2 separate regions of the Homo sapiens genome follow, and region 2 is linked to region 1. The links are contacts of gene promoters, found by promoter capture Hi-C in blood cells and fetal thymus (Javierre and others, 2016). All regions are on one chromosome and are shown on one strand. Each heading gives the region's core, a stretch centred on a gene start or on the middle of the fragment in contact. The rest is flanking DNA. Distances are from core to core; before and after follow the strand shown. Region 1 holds the start of LRRC74A (leucine rich repeat containing 74A). Region 2 has its middle 13 kb from the start of ZDHHC22.

Region 1 (3,189 bases), core at 690-3,189:
CTCACAGTAGAGCATTTTATCGCTGCTCTGTCGTACTGGCTCAATTTCAATCTCATCTGGAAGAAAAAACTCATCTCCTTGATGCCAGGAATAAAACTTGCTGGCCTCCCAATAAAGCCTGCCGCTGCCGCCCCTCCATCTCTGCTCCCTTCCTCTGAGTCCCAGGTCCTCAAGGTGCCAAGCCCTGCCAGGGCAAGTCCACTCTACAAACCTCCCTTCCCCAATAGCGCTGCCTCCGGCTGCAGGGTCTACGGGAGCTTGTGAAACCAACTCCCTTCTGCTCCCTGGAGACCGGCTGCTCCTTCCCCCTTCCCTGTCTGAGGCGTGCCTTGGAGATCGGCTCCTTGCTCACACTTTCCCATTCTTAAGTGTTTGGGTGGGTTTTGGGGTGTGCTGTTACTCTTTCAGGTGAAAGGGTGGGTCCCGATACATAGGCTTCCTTATTGTCAGGCACAAATGGTGCCAGGGAGTATAAGGGGCAGGGCAGGGCAGGGGAGGTGACAACTTAGGTCAAATAGAAAATAAAATGGACCAGGAGCAGTTCCAGAGAGCAAGAGAGAGAACTTGATTCCTAAGAATTTGACTTAGCTTCTCTTCCTTCCAATCTAACATTGATTTGTGATTAGGAAGAAGGAGGGGCTTGAAAATCTCCCTTGGGTCGAAATGAATTACTATGATTAATTCATAGTAATGAATTAATCATATTCATTGCTGGGAACAGAGCTCCCCTCACACCAGTCCTCTGCACTTGCTAGATGTGGTTTTACCACCTCTGGGCCATTGACCTGGGATCAGCCATAGGCTCCTGAAAGCCATGGGCTTCTGGAAGCCACACATAAAATCCAGAGCTCAATCCTTAGGCACTGACAGGACTCAGTAGTTTCAAGAAGCCATGCCATGCCTCTGAATGACCTGTCAGAATTTAGCCAACCTACTCATTGGGTGGGCTGAGCATTTGTGGCAGGGGTCCCAAGTTTTGACCACCCAGATTCTAGGATGGTGGGGTTCCTAATGAGTCCATGCAGGTCTTTCTTAATCCTTGTCCATAGACCCAGGTTCCAACATTTATCTCCCAGACTGTCTGGGATACACAGTGCAGGTAGCAGTGGCCTGGTAGTTAGAAGACAGACAACAGCTTGGCTGTCAGACTGCTGAGTGCCCTTAGAAAAGTGATGAATTTCTGAGTGTTAATTTCCTTGTCAAACAATTTAGAATTCCATTCAACCAGTAGAATGCTGGTAAATTTTAACAATTGATTCTCCAGGAAAAAAAACAAACAACACCAAAAACATCCTGATTTATAGTGTTAGCCAATTCATGTGGTGTAAATATTCCCAATGTGACTGATTTCAAACTATAAATGTGGTATCAACTGGCCCACACAATAAAAATTAAAGCTGGCTAGAGCCAGTATGAGGTAGTTGTGGCATAGCACTGCAGCCAATTCTTCCTGTTTGCCAAGGCCTGAACCCAAGTCAGTATAACAAATCATCCTACTTCTAGAGGGTCCCAGGTGAGGAAAGAAGTGGGCTTCAGGGTCCTGTGATCACTAGGTGTTGTACTGAGGCAGCAGGGACGGGCCTGAGTGGTGAGAGATGGGATGCCCTTTCACCTTCTGTCTCAGGCTGAAGAGGCTTGTCATTGTCCATGGTGCCAGGACCCTCTTGAGGGCAGCTGCCAACTTCTTGCCACCTCTCGACTGCTTCCCTAAGAAGCACACCTGTCCATTCACCTCTGTCTCAAACTCTGTGAACTTCCCTCACCTGGGGGCATCCCAGGGGAGCCTGCAGTTATCCTTCCCTCCCAGCAAGCCCTGGGAAGAGTAGGCTTTGATGGGAATTGGATGTGCATGAATTTGACCCCAACTCTGTCTGGGAGAGGTAGCTACTTCTCCAGCTCATCTGGGAGAGTGGGACTGCTCTATTGCTGGGAGCCCTGTTGAAAGGATCCCCACCCGCCTGTGACTTTGTGACTCAGGAGCCACTTTCATTTCATCTTCAACATTCTGTGACCTCATGCAGTCATTGTGATTCACATGGTGGACCTGGCAACAGCAGGCTTCCCGCCCTCTGGGTGGTTCTGGCAGTCACCTGTTCTCATATGTCTACTGGGGCCAAGCCCAGGCTTGGCTGTGAGTGCTCAGGTGCTGTGGGGGGTTCCTCTCAGTGGTGTTGTATTTCCCTCTGAGTCAGGACCCAACCCAAGCCCCTTAATTAGGTGACTGTGAAGAGCTGCCATCATGTTCTTCTCGCAAGAGAGCTGTGCTTCAGGTATGAAGTATTTCAGTGACGGGTGAAGTCAGTTTTCTTCTGCCCAGCTCTTCTTCCTTTTTTCTTTTCCCCGTGGGAGAGCATCTTAACCTTGGAGCTGAAGATCAAAAGCACAGCGCAATGAACATATGTCCTATCACTACAGTTTGTTGCAGCCAAAGCATTGTTCAATCCAAACTATGGGGCTGCCTACCTTGAGACGGTTCAACTAGCATTCCCACACTCGGCCATTCTCACATGTGTTGGAGTTGAAGTCCAGTTGCAGTTTGGTTTCGGGAGAATCTGGAGGCACATTTGTTCTTTCTTGATAAGTTTTCAGGACATCAATGGTCAGGTCAGTGACTGGAGGGTTTGAGGATGTGAAAATTCCTTTTTTTTTTTTTTTTTTTTGCTACTCAGAATGAGGAAGATCTAGAAATGTGTGCAAGGAAAACATGATTAGAACCATGGATCAGAAGAAATATGTATACCTGAGATGTTACTTGTTCCTTCAAGCATTCATGCTGAGAAATACATATTGAGTCTCTATTACGTACGGGCGCTAAAATAGGCACCACTGTGGGGAAGGGATGCAGACATGATTAAGACAGGACCCTTTTAAGGCATGTGCAATGCATAATAGAAATTGACAGGGCCACCCTAGGGTGAGGGTCCTGGGCAAATATTTTTGGTAGAGTTCTTGCTTGTATAAACAATTTGAGTCACCCTAAATCGGCATGGCAGCACCATTCTGGTGGCCCAATCTCATGTGGTCCTTCTAAAGAAATACCAAACAGTCCAGGGAGAGTGATCAGCTCCTAGGATGATCAGGTAGACATGAGTCCTGGTGATCCTCAGGGCATCTGGCTGGCCCACACTATTGCAGAGGATAAGGAAGCATTAAGGGGGAGAAAGAGGGATCAGAGAGCATGTGTGTCCT
Region 2 (3,651 bases), core at 714-3,213, 300 kb before region 1:
GAGGGTGTTGAGCCTTTCAGGCAGTGGGCCCTGAGCAGACGAATGAGCAAGGCCTCTGATTCATCCTAAAGACACAAGGCCTGGACTGAGGAAGGATACAACTGCAAAGAGCTGTTGCAGAACCCTCAGCCTAGCCGAGTGTCATGGTGGTGTATGTTCCCTGAACACACACCAACAGGCGAACAGCTTTGCTGCAGGTGCTGGGTGAATGGAGCTGTGGTGAATCCTCAGCACATTCTAGAACATGGGCTGCCTACACTCCATGGGGCAGGCACCACACTTGCCTTGGTCACTGTCATATCCTTGATGCGTAGCAGGGGCTAGGCACACAGTAGGTGCTCAATGAATATTGCCTGAATGATGCAGATTTAGCGCTCACATGCTTACTCCACATCTCTTATTCCCATGCTGGACCCAGGACTGCACTTTGCACATCGTGGGGCTAGAAAACAGATGAGACCACTCTCTCTTCGAGGAGTTCCCATTCTGGCAGAGGTTTCTGGGAGTGCTCAGAGGAGGGAGAGAGCACATTCTGCTGCTAGGTCTGGGGCCTTTCCATGATACGGGGCCTGGAAAGATGGATGAGATTTCAGCAGGCAAAGAGGGACAGGGAGGGCTTTCCAGGGACAGAGAACAGGCCTGGGCCTTGGGGTATAAGGGATATCACAAAGAGGCAGAGGAGGTTAAGGCTGAGAGTAGGGACCCAAGCAGAGAGGGCTCTGAATGCCAAGCTAAGGGACCTGGAGGGCATTTGACAGGCAATAGGGAACCACTGAAAGTTCTGAGCAAGAGAGCAGCATGATCAGAGGTAGATTTCAGAAAGCGCAGCCTTGGAGGATAGACTGGAAGTGGGAGAAACTGGAGGTTGAGGGACCTGGTAAGAGGCATGTACTATATCTCAGTGAGATGTAACCGGGATCCGGGTGGGGATAGTGGTTGTGGGATGGTAAAGAGGGGAAAGATATCAGAGGCACTTCACAGACATGGAGCATGAGTAGAGGAATGCTAGGGAGGGGGCCCAAGATGGCCCTGAAGGTGAAAACGGGGTGATTGTTAGGAGGATTGGGGTGGAAAAGATTGTGACACTAGGGTTCAGGGCCATCTCATGCACTAGCCTCTGTCGTTGGCCCGTCAGATGGCAGTTGATGGTGTCATTCTTAACTAACCACTCTGCGTCCATGGAGGAAGGGGTTCAGGGACATCTGCCAGTCATTCTTTACAGCACAGCTCTCTGACTCCCACAGCAGGGGTAGAATCATCTGTCAGTGCCAATAGAGATCATGGGTCCTCAGGCCCATGTGCTGGAGTGAGATGCTTTCCATCCAGAAAGTGGGTACACTCTGCTTTGACCCATGCCCTAGTGTCAGATTAGGCAAGGCAGGAACTGCCTCACTCTAAGCTCCAGGAACCCAAGGAGTTTTGGAAAGACAACAAACTTGAGGAGACTTCAACCCAGGTCCCCCTCCACTGTAACAAGTCAGTCCTTAGGTCCCAGGGACCATCTGTTAGCCAGTCTTTCTCCTTAGGAAGATGACTGTCCTTGTTACTGTCCATGCATTTGGTCCTCCAAATACTGTGGCTTTTGTCTGTACCCAGTGTCCTCCAACTGGCCTCATTGCTCATGAGATTCCCCCTCATCTCCCTCCTGCCCTGCCTCTCAGCATGCCCTCGGGGATGCTTGGGAAGCAGCCCCTCCTGCCAGGAAGAAAAGGAAGGATGGGCAGGGAGAGAGGAGGCATTTCTCCTAACTTATCTGAGACACGTTAAAGATGAGGCAGAACCTTGGGCCTGCTCACCAGCCACAGTGAGCCTGCTGGTGGGGGCGGGAGGTGTCTGGGAGTAGCTCAGTTGCTCCTGGTGTTGGCCTCTGCTTCTGCTCTCATTCCCCTCTCTATTCATGGTACTGGCCCAGCTCCTCCACTCATTCTTCAAAAACATTCATCGATGCTGACTCTATGCCAGGCATGATGCCAAGAACCAGGAATGCAAAGATGAAAGAGACCCAGTACCTGATCTCAGGGAGCTCACTAGGAAGAGAACAAATTGCAGATGGTTGTGATTCAGTGGCATGAAAGTGCCGATGGGAGGACAGGGTGCTACAGAAGCCTGGCGGAGAGCACTTACTTTACCAGGGCGGACCTGAAGGCTTCCCAGAAAAGGCAACATCTGGGTCATGCAGGATGAATAGGAGGGGGCCAGGCAGAAAAGCAGGGCTGTGGGTGGGAGTGGAGGTAGGAGGGACTATACAGAGGCAGAGATACCAGGTGGTTTCTGGGAATTGCAAGTCTGCATTTAGGAATGGTGGGATGTGAGCACATACCTGCAGCCACAACTGCAGGTTTGTCCTCAGGCCACGCTCCCCATGGACCCTGCCTCCTTCCTCTGATCACTTCTTAGAAAACCCTAACTCACACCAGCTCATGGTGTCCGTTTGGATGAGTCAAGCATGAACTGATGTCTAGTTTTTCTAAAGGATCCGCAAGTCTCCAGGTTGGCGATCAAAGGTAGAAGGTTAAGTTCATTTTCCAGAGAATCAGCCCAAAGATGCTAGAGCTCACCTGGGAACATCAGAGATTCCTAGTCTTCTCTGGGCCCAAAGAGGGGTCTCTGGGAGCTCCCCATCACTCTTGCCTTCCTGCACAGCCTCAGCAAATGGCATTGGAAGGACACCATTCCTAGCAAGATGGCTTCCAGGACTTACAATAGAACTGGAAAGGCTGGAACCCTGAGATGTAAGCAGTGACCTTTTGTTATGTACAGTGCCCCATCTGGACTGGCAAGGCAGCTCTCTGCGTGGACCTCTGCACCCTGGTGGGCACCTCCCCACATCCTGTAACCTGGTGGCCCCAGCATGCCTCCTCCTTTAGCCTAGGCCCCTCCCAGCCCCTCCTCCACATCGCACTTCTCCATAGGACCTTTCTTCAATTGGTCCAGCCCCCTGGAAACCTTCTATTTCAAACTCCCACTACTGTTGGCAGCTCTCTGTCACTCTTACTCTCTCCTGTAGGTTTTGTCTCCTAACTACTGCATGCCCTTGGAAAGCAGAAATGGAGATGGTGGAATCCTTTAGTTTCCCCCTGTCCCTAGCATGGTGTAGGACACTAACATTGTTGATACAGTCATTCTACTGCTGGTAACAATGACCAAGATTTGCTGAGCCTTCCCTACATGCCAGGTGCTTGTCCTGTACACACTTTATCTGTATTAACTCATGTATTCCTCATAGCAATCCTACAAGGTATGTTTTATTATAACCCTGACGTTCCAGGTAAAAAAATAAATAAATAAAGGCACAGAGAGGTTGTGTAATTTGCCCAAAGCCTGAAGCTAGTATGTGGCAGAGCCAGGATTCAAACCCAGGCTGCCTGCTCCAAGGTCTATTTAACACAGCACTAGACTGTCTTTCCATTGTGGAATATTACAGACACACAATACATTCCCTGCTGAAAATTAACAAGGAGCCAAGTTTCTACTCATTCATTCATTGATCTGTTCATTCAACATGTTTATTGAGCACCTACTATGTAACAGGCACGGGTGGATACAGAGAAAGGAAGTAGGCTCAGCTTGTGCCTTGCAGAGCTAACAGTCAACTGCTTATGGTGACTTTGCCGGGAAAATGGGGGTCCCTAGATCTTTCCCAGCTAAGGA

What was found. Contacts are between HindIII fragments. The CHiCAGO score rates a contact against its expected background, and 5 or more counts as called.
Region 2: a fragment that was not itself captured here is called in contact with the fragment with the promoter of LRRC74A in region 1 in 1 of 17 cell types (neutrophils); the score reaches 6.7 in neutrophils.

Annotation. Positions count from the first base shown.
Region 1 is chr14:76,825,158-76,828,346 of GRCh38, reverse strand. LRRC74A (leucine rich repeat containing 74A) reads right to left here and starts at 1,939. Exons shown (of 14, transcript NM_001385106.1): 1 at 1,613-1,939; 2 at 1-56. The coding sequence starts at 1,649. RefSeq lists an enhancer at 1-15. The HindIII fragment of the contact is 9,425 bases long and covers 1-3,189 here.
Region 2 is chr14:77,126,970-77,130,620 of GRCh38, reverse strand. No RefSeq gene overlaps it. Among named protein-coding and RNA genes, the nearest start is that of ZDHHC22, 13 kb to the left of the region's middle. The HindIII fragment of the contact is 5,677 bases long and covers 1-3,651 here.